Linked DNA regions of Homo sapiens: regions 1 and 3 are each linked to region 2. The links are contacts of gene promoters, found by promoter capture Hi-C in blood cells and fetal thymus (Javierre and others, 2016). All regions are on one chromosome and are shown on one strand. The core of a region is centred on a gene start or on the middle of the fragment in contact, and the rest is flanking DNA. Distances in the headings are between cores, read along the strand shown.

Region 1 (2,700 bases), core at 78-2,577, 300 kb before region 2:
TTTCACATGAGAAGTCAGATCTTGAAGCAAACTTCCAGTGATCCCAGGAGCACTGAGTGACCAAGTTAAGGTACCCAGCATGCCCAGTGTACTCACTGCTCTTTCGCAGCAACTGGGGTCATGGGTGAGATTTTTGAATCTAAGCTTCATGAACTTCTGATTTGAGCTGAGTTTGAGCATTTTTGATCTACACTGGGTTTCAAAGTCATGCCAACAACAGGACTGGGCCCAGTAGGGAGGCCTCAGGTATTTGACTGGGTCAGACATAAACTCAACTCAGTTAGTAGGTAGGAAAGGTTAATAAAAGACATAGAATCATGGGTTTATCTGGTCAAAGGTTGCTAGAGCTTCGCCCTCTGGAATTCTAGCCAACTTCATGTATAAAAACCAGAGACCCAGAACCTGTGCTTTTCGAGACGAATGGGAGAACCTTAGCAAAAGTAACTTAGAATGGCTACAGTGGGAAAATTCCTTACGAAAGGCAAACAGGTTTATGTCTTTACAGTTGTAAAGGCTACAGGGCCCAAGAGGATCCCAAAATAAAGAACCCTATGCCCCAAGATGTCTGCCTTTATGGTAAACACTCATGCAACTGGAAAATACATTGTCCACTTTTATATTAGCCATCTAATGGATCCACTACCTTTTGTCTGAACTATTTCTCCACCAGAGAAAGCCCCCAAAGGCTTTAATCCCAAAACAGTAACCCATCAATCTCTCAGGGAGGAAAAACAAATTCTGTGGTGGGGGTTTCAAATCAAACCTGGAAAGTTCCTAATTGACACTTGGACCATTTTCAGAAAAAAAATTTGTAAGAATTAGTTCTGTTATCTGTATTTCATCCTGCTTCTTCCATGGGGATCTCTCAATTGACTGAAACCCCTCTTCTCAAACTCCTGCTAACAATATGCTCTACCAACTGTATACATCTTTTTTTTTATTATACTTTAAGTTTTAGGGTACATGTGCACAACATGCAGGTTTGTTACATATATACATCTCTTTCTTATCATCATGATCCTGACTATGCTCCAAAACTCTTGAAAAACAAAAAAATAGAAAGCAAAACAAAAACTGTGTTGTCATTTATTCTTGAAAACAAAGAAATGAACAAAAAGGATGAACCAATCTCTAACTTTAAGAAAAGATTATAATATTCATGCAGAGTTCGGGCACATAAAATGCTGTATAGACTAAGCAACCCTAATCCAAAAGTCCAAAATCTGAAATGCTCAAAAATCCAAAACTTTCAGCACCAACATGATGTCACAAGTGAAAGATGATGAGGACACTGTTAAAACTGCAAAGTGCCTATAGATGACATGGTGAAAATATGTGATGGGTTTACTGAAGGACTCTAAGAGCATTCATTCATCACAGAATAAGAAATTGTGTCAGTCTGTAAAATCAACAGAGACTTCTAAGACAAAAACCATTGTTAATGAGACAGCGGACTCCAGAGGAAACATTCTGAAAAGTCATCCATCAGAATGCTTCCTCATTTGTAGAGAAAACACTTGCTGGTCACTTGGCTACTTCTGATATTTCTTCTCACTTAAAATAATAAAATTCAGTGAATGATAACCTTGTAATCAAAATACAGCATTGTAGGTAAAGAATGAAAGCCTGCCATTGCTTATTGGTGGCTTTCCGACACAGGCATTCTGGAGATACTACTGTGCTGCTTAGTTACCCTGAACGCATTCTCTTTTCACTGTACTAATGATACATCCTATTTTTTACTGTTAAGCACTTATTTGTGAGTAATGTAAGAAAATGATTACTTATCAGTAGCATAATGAATTTAGAGTCAGGAATGATGGTGACGTCAAATAACCACAGATTGTCCACATGGGTGATTGAGATACTGATACCTTTGCTTTCTGATGGTTCAACGTACGTAAACGTTTCATACACAACATTATCAAAAATATTGTATAAAATTATCTTCAGGCTATATGTTTAAAACATAATGGAACATGAATTTCATGTTTACTTGGGTCCCATTCTCAAGATACCTCATTATGTACATGCATGCCTTGTTTTACTGTGCTTTGCTATACTGTGATTCACAGATACTCCATTTTTTTAAACAAATTGAGGGTTTGTGGCATCCTTGTATCAAGGAGTCTATCAGTGCCATTTTGCAGAACAGCAACTTCTCAGTTTGTCTCTTTGTCAAATTTTGGTAATTCTCACAATATTTCAGACTTTTTCATAACAATCTGTTATGGTGATCTATGATCAGTGATCTTTGATGTTACTATTATAATTGTTTTGGGACCCCATGAACCATGCCTATATAAGATGGTGAACTTAGTAAGTGTTGTTGTGACTGCTCCACAGAGCAACTATTCTCCCATCTCTCCCCTTATTCTAGGACCTCCCTATTCCCTGAGACAAAACAATATTGAAATTAGGCCAATTAATAAGCCTACAAATGCCTCTAAATATTCAAGTGAAAAGAAGGTTCGTGCATCTCTCACTTTAAGTCAAAAAGCTGGAAAAGATTAAGCTTAATGAGGAAGGCATGCTGAAAGCAAAGACAGGCCAAAAGCTAGGCCTAGATTCCTCTGATGAATCTAGGCAACGTAAATTGAAAACTTTCTAAAAAGGATTCACCATTTTAGATACCACTAAGAACTTTTGTTATTCATGGGAGGAAGTCAAAATATAAATATTAACAGGAGCTTGGAAGAA
Region 2 (2,700 bases), core at 173-2,672:
AAAAGAGGGAGACATTCTTAGAGATGAAGATGGAGAAGTACATAAGGGTCTGCTCACACACATCTGATGTCTCTCCACCTGTATGTACTCTAAGCTCCTTTACAGATCTAAAGGCAGTTTGATCTATAAACCAGCTATTTTACATGCCACTTTTCTATCCAATTGCATAAATCCACTCTTTCCCTTTATATGTCTTTTTCATTTCCCCGCATTTTCTCATTGTTCAAAGCCCTACTATTGTTGTAAACAGGGTGGCATTAAGACAAAGGTTTGCTCTTAGAAAAAGTTCAAGAAGGGAGCCCCCAAACTGTCTGACACGTTTAAGTGTCACTTGTAGTAACCATGTATCTCAATGTGATAAGCCAGAAAAAACAACGACTGCCTGTTCCTGGAACTGGGAAGTGGCCATGCCAAGACTTCCAGGAATAACAGTGCATGAATGAAACCACCTGGGAACCAGAGAATCAGCTTGGAGAAGCAGGAACTTTGTCAAATATTTAAAATAATAAGAGCTAACTTTCACTGAGTACTTTCTGTAGCGCCAGGCACTGCTCTAAGAATTTTACATTAATACTCTGTAGCTCATTTAATAGTTACACAATTTCAGAGATGAGGCAATGGAAAGAACATATATAAGAAGAAAGTGGCTGACAGTCCACAGACGTGAAGCAGTAGAGGCCGAATTTAAAGTCGGGGAGCCTGACTGGAGCTAATGGTCTTAGGAACCGTGCTAGATACCGCCACTATCTTTCCTAAGCTGGTATTGTAGAGGGCCTAGCATAGATGTGGGCTCCGGCGGACTTCATTGAATACTTACTGATAAATGACAGCTTGCAGGCTGTATTAACCATTCCTTCTAATAGCCCCACTACGCTGGCACATGCTCCTGAGCCCAGACTCTACCCAGGATTCAGGGCCGCTCTCTACCTGTAAAGCAGTGTAGCTAAGGGGAAGCTGAGCCCCGCAAGGCGTTTTCAGGCAGGGCACCCCTTGTCATTCGAATGGTTCTGGGGTGAGCCCGGGTGCCGCTGGGCCGCCTGGGGCCCCTTGCCGTGTACCTGCTCCACTTCCAGGGTCCCTTTCAGAGGCCTCTTGCATTTCTGGCCCCAACCTTCACCCCACATCCTCCACCCCCAGAGCAGCAAACACAACCTGCGGGCCCTCGCGCCGGTTCCCCACAAGTTGCCCTCCACACCTGACCCCGGCCCTGGCCCCAGCGCAGGCTCCGCGCAGTTCCCGCGCCCAAGTCCCCAGGAGGCGGCAGAGAAAGCCGCCCGCGCACCTCTGGCTGCCGCTGTTTCCGCTCCCGAGCGAGACAAGGTCCAGAGAGCCGGGGCCAGGCGATGGCTTCCTCTTCTGCGCCTCTAGACTGCCGGGCACAGCTGCTGCGCAACCTTCTCAGAAGTCAGCCGGAAAAGGGTCTGGGAGTAACCTTTGCGCCAACACCCGCGGCTCCTGGTTTCGTTTCCTGAATCTTACGTACACAACACGGTTTCCTTTTCCCGGTTCCCGCGCTGGCGCTCGGGGACCCACGAGACTACTGGAGGGTGAAGGAGCTGGAGGAGGGACTGCGCCCACCCCCTGGTGTGAGGCCCCTCCCCTACCCCCGACTTGCTTTCTTGCTCATTGGAGAGACTCCAGAGACGTTTGTCCGGTGGTTAAGGAGAGGAACTGGGACTCCGACACTAACTGGAACTGGAAAGTCATCAGCTGGGGAGTGGCCTCCCCCGGGAACTTTCTTTACTCTGGCTTTGACCTCCATCCCTCGGAAGCCCGTGGCTTTTCAAGGCGAGGGAGTAGAGGCAGCTTAAGACTACAAATGAGGAGGGGCCAAAATTGTTTTTCTTTATGGTGCCTTTTCTTTCTTGCTGTCTTGCTCTTTCTTTCCTTCTATTAAATTATGTGATATTACTTTTTAATTTTTAAGCAGTTATTTGAATGTTTTCGAGCTCACTTTATTTTTTTATAAATATTGTTCCTTTTTAAACTAAAATAGTTTTTATTCTGTGTATTTAAGTTATTTGTATGACATATCCATCAACTCCTATAATTACACATTTCCCCCCTTGGGGCAAGAGCAGCTATAATCTACTTATTTAGCATAAATCCTGAATACCACTATCATTAACTATAGCCCTCATGTTGTACATTAGGTCTTCCCATTTGTTCATCCTACGTGTTTGTAACTTTGTATACTTTTACCTAAATTTCCCCATTTCTCCTGACCCCACTCCAACCTGGATGACCCTGGATAAACCAGTGGTCCCCAACCTTTTTGGCACCAGGGACCAGTTTCACGGAAGAGGATTTTTCCATGGACCAGGGCCGGGTGGCAGACGGTTTCAGGATGATTCAAGCACATTACGTGTATTGCGCACTTTACTTCTATTATTATTACATTGTAATATATAATAAAATAATTATACAACTCACCATAATGTGGAATCAGTGGGAGCCCTGACCTTGTTTTCCTGCAATTAGAAGGTCCCATCTGGGAACGGTGGGAGACAGTGACACCAGAAGTGTGTTGCTTATGTCCAGTCTACTCCGTAATCTTGTTTTGGTTGCTGTCACTGCAGAAAATCCTGCTTCACAAAGATAGCATGTTGGAAATGGAAGCAGACTCTTCAGTGCTTTTGTGGCAATCTCAGGATATCCCACCTTGAGTTTAATCCAGAACATGGGATTTGAAGCTGTCTC
Region 3 (2,700 bases), core at 101-2,600, 280 kb before region 2:
ATCATGTTAGCCATTTTCTTAGATTTTGTCACATGGAATTTGATAATCTTTTTCTTTATGTCTAAATTTATGTCACTGAAACAAATGTTGGGTTAGATAAAGAATCTAATAGGTCATTTCTGAGATTAACCTCTAGGATGACAGAAATTCAGTAATCAATACCTTCTGTAATTGTTCAACCAGCTAAAAATCCATTTAGACTTTCCTTTTACATAATCCACATTTTAAAATGTCTTGCTCACAGCAATGAATATTAAAATCTCTGCTTAATGTGTTAAAAACAGTGTTTATTATGACATGCTCATGATCTCTCTACTCCACCAGTCAGGAGGGAAGGGGAAATGAGTCCATTTTATAAGATTTGATTGAGAACACAATACTGCCTTTGTTAAATGCTCAAATGCTATTATTTACAACTTCTGTACTATAAATTTGCCTGAAACTGACATTACAATGCGTTGTTAGTTGAGTTGTGTCCCCCAAAAAGATATTTTGATATGATTTTATTTAGAAATTGTCTGTATAGATGTAATCAAAATAAAAGAAAACCAATACCGTATTAGGGTGCACCCTAATCCAATAACTGTGGCCTTATAAGAAGAGAGAAATTTGGATACAGAGACAGACACACAGAGAGAACCCATGTGACAATAAAGACAGAGATTAGAGTGATGCGTCTAGATAAGGAGCACCAAGGATTGCCAGCAACCACTAGAGTCTAAGAGAGAGGCATGAAACAAATTCTTTCTGAGTCTGCAAGAAGGAAATAACCCTACCAACATATATATATATATTTTCAGTTTTCTGGCCTTCACAACTGAGAGAAAATAAAATTCCGTTGTTTTAAATGATCTCGTGTGTGGTAATTTTTTAAGGCAATACTAGGAAACTATTACAAAATGTGTGAGTGTTTCTGTGTGTAATTTCTACAAGTCAATATTTTCTTTTCTTGAAAATTGGGACACAATTCGCTTTTTACTAGTTTTCTGAATCTTCACACATTCTGTGATGTTGAAAAGAAAATTGAGAGTGATTTCAATACAATATTTTCATGATTTTTGTCCCCATGGCTATAGTTGATATGATTTTAAAAGCTTGAACTCATTTATGCTATCTGGGTCAAATTGACCTTGATACATGGAGTAGAAAGTGAGTTGCATCTCCAAGAACACAAGAATAAAGAATGTAAAAGAGCAACTGAAGTATTTGGGGGAACATACGGAACTTCTATCAATTATCATTTAAATACATCGAGAAGCATATTTAGAAATGATTGCTTACAAATGGAAAAGGATCTTAAATCTTTCTGAAGTAAAATTGCTCTAAAAACACAATGGTTAAATTTTGTTGGAAAAAACTTTATATATACTTACATATAGATATATACGCCATGCTTATATGTATGCATACACTAGATATGCTTACATGTGATTACATAAGCATGGGGAAAAATGGAAGAACAAACTACTTTTATAAATATGGGTTATCTGGGGTGTGGCAGTAGTGGAAAGAGGAAAAAAATGAGAAAACTGTGGCTTGAGAGGATAAGTAACTTGACCCAACAAGTGATGGAGCTGAGATCTGAACCAAAGTCTGTATTGAATCTAAAGCTTACTGTCATAAACTTTGTTTAAAATGTTATGATATTCAATTCAATGTAGAAAGAGACAGTAAAACAATCTTTTTCAAAAGCGTGCTCTGTTCCTTGAAATTTAATTATAGGGTATCTCTTTTTTCCTTTCACAAAGCATATTAACCAACTTTTCTGTCTATTCATAGAGATATATTTAAATCTTACTTTTTAATTTAACAATATTTTATCTTAGGTATACTTCAGACAGATTAATACAAATATATCTGTGAAATGTCTAAAACTATTTTAAATTTAGAGTATTTATACTTTACTAATGGCTAGGCCATGTGATCATTACGTATTTATATATTTTTACAAAATCCTAAAATGGTTAATGCAGTTCAACAAAAATTTGAGGAACTAGAAAATTTTTGAGGCTGGCATTCCCAAAAGCAAAAATGAGAAAAAGGAAATATTTCTTGAAGTCAGGCAAGTAATTTAACTATATATCGATGAAAAGAGTATTTTAAATTCAAATTTTGTACACGGCAGCCTCGTATGTCACAATCTGCATAATTATTATAACATCAGGGCATTTAATTCAATAGTGTGAATGTTTAAGTTGTGATTAAAGACACACAAGTTTGCCATTGTCCTTAAATGTCGATAAATAACAAATTCTTTTTGTATAGTGTCTATATGCAAAGTGAATTATTTGCTGATTTAAAGAATTTTGGCTGAATCAGATCTACTGACATTTTATGTATATATTTAGGAATGTGAGTTATTCAAGTATGTGTCAGTGATTTAAAATAATGAATGTTAAAAAATTTACTAAAGTCTTAAACATGTAATGAAAAGAGTCTATTTTTTCTACAAAATTGCTCAAGACTTCTGAAATACAAAGCTGATAATGTCACTTCCAGGTTAAAGTCTTTCATTTTTCAGGGAAGATTTTTCATTTTAAAGCCTACAGTTTTCAAGAAAACTCTTAATATGTATTGTAGAACATACAGCCCTAATTTTCTTGCATTTGCTTAATTTTTTTTTTTTGCTTCACCATGTAGCACTTCCCTGTTTTCCATGTTCTAGTGATATGCTAGATACTATATCTATCTATCTATATA

The links. The method cuts DNA at HindIII sites, captures the fragments that hold promoters and counts their contacts. A CHiCAGO score of 5 or more calls a contact.
Region 1: a fragment that was not itself captured here is called in contact with the fragment with the promoter of PLSCR1 in region 2 in 6 of 17 cell types (naive B cells, total CD4 T cells, erythroblasts and 3 more); the score reaches 9.0 in naive B cells.
Region 3: a fragment that was not itself captured here is called in contact with the fragment with the promoter of PLSCR1 in region 2 in 1 of 17 cell types (fetal thymus); the score reaches 5.6 in fetal thymus.

The regions. Positions count from the first base shown.
Region 1 is chr3:146,242,309-146,245,008 of GRCh38, forward strand. All of the region lies in intron 1 of PLSCR4 (phospholipid scramblase 4), which reads right to left. Among named protein-coding and RNA genes, the nearest start is that of PLSCR4, 7.4 kb to the right of the region's middle. The HindIII fragment of the contact is 2,371 bases long and covers 143-2,513 here.
Region 2 is chr3:146,543,185-146,545,884 of GRCh38, forward strand. It overlaps PLSCR1 (phospholipid scramblase 1), which reads right to left and starts at 1,423. Exons shown (of 9, transcript NM_021105.3): 1 at 1,283-1,423. RefSeq lists an enhancer at 1,273-1,752. The HindIII fragment of the contact is 8,607 bases long and covers 1-2,700 here.
Region 3 is chr3:146,259,725-146,262,424 of GRCh38, forward strand. No RefSeq gene overlaps it. Among named protein-coding and RNA genes, the nearest start is that of PLSCR4, 10 kb to the left of the region's middle. The HindIII fragment of the contact is 516 bases long and covers 1,093-1,608 here.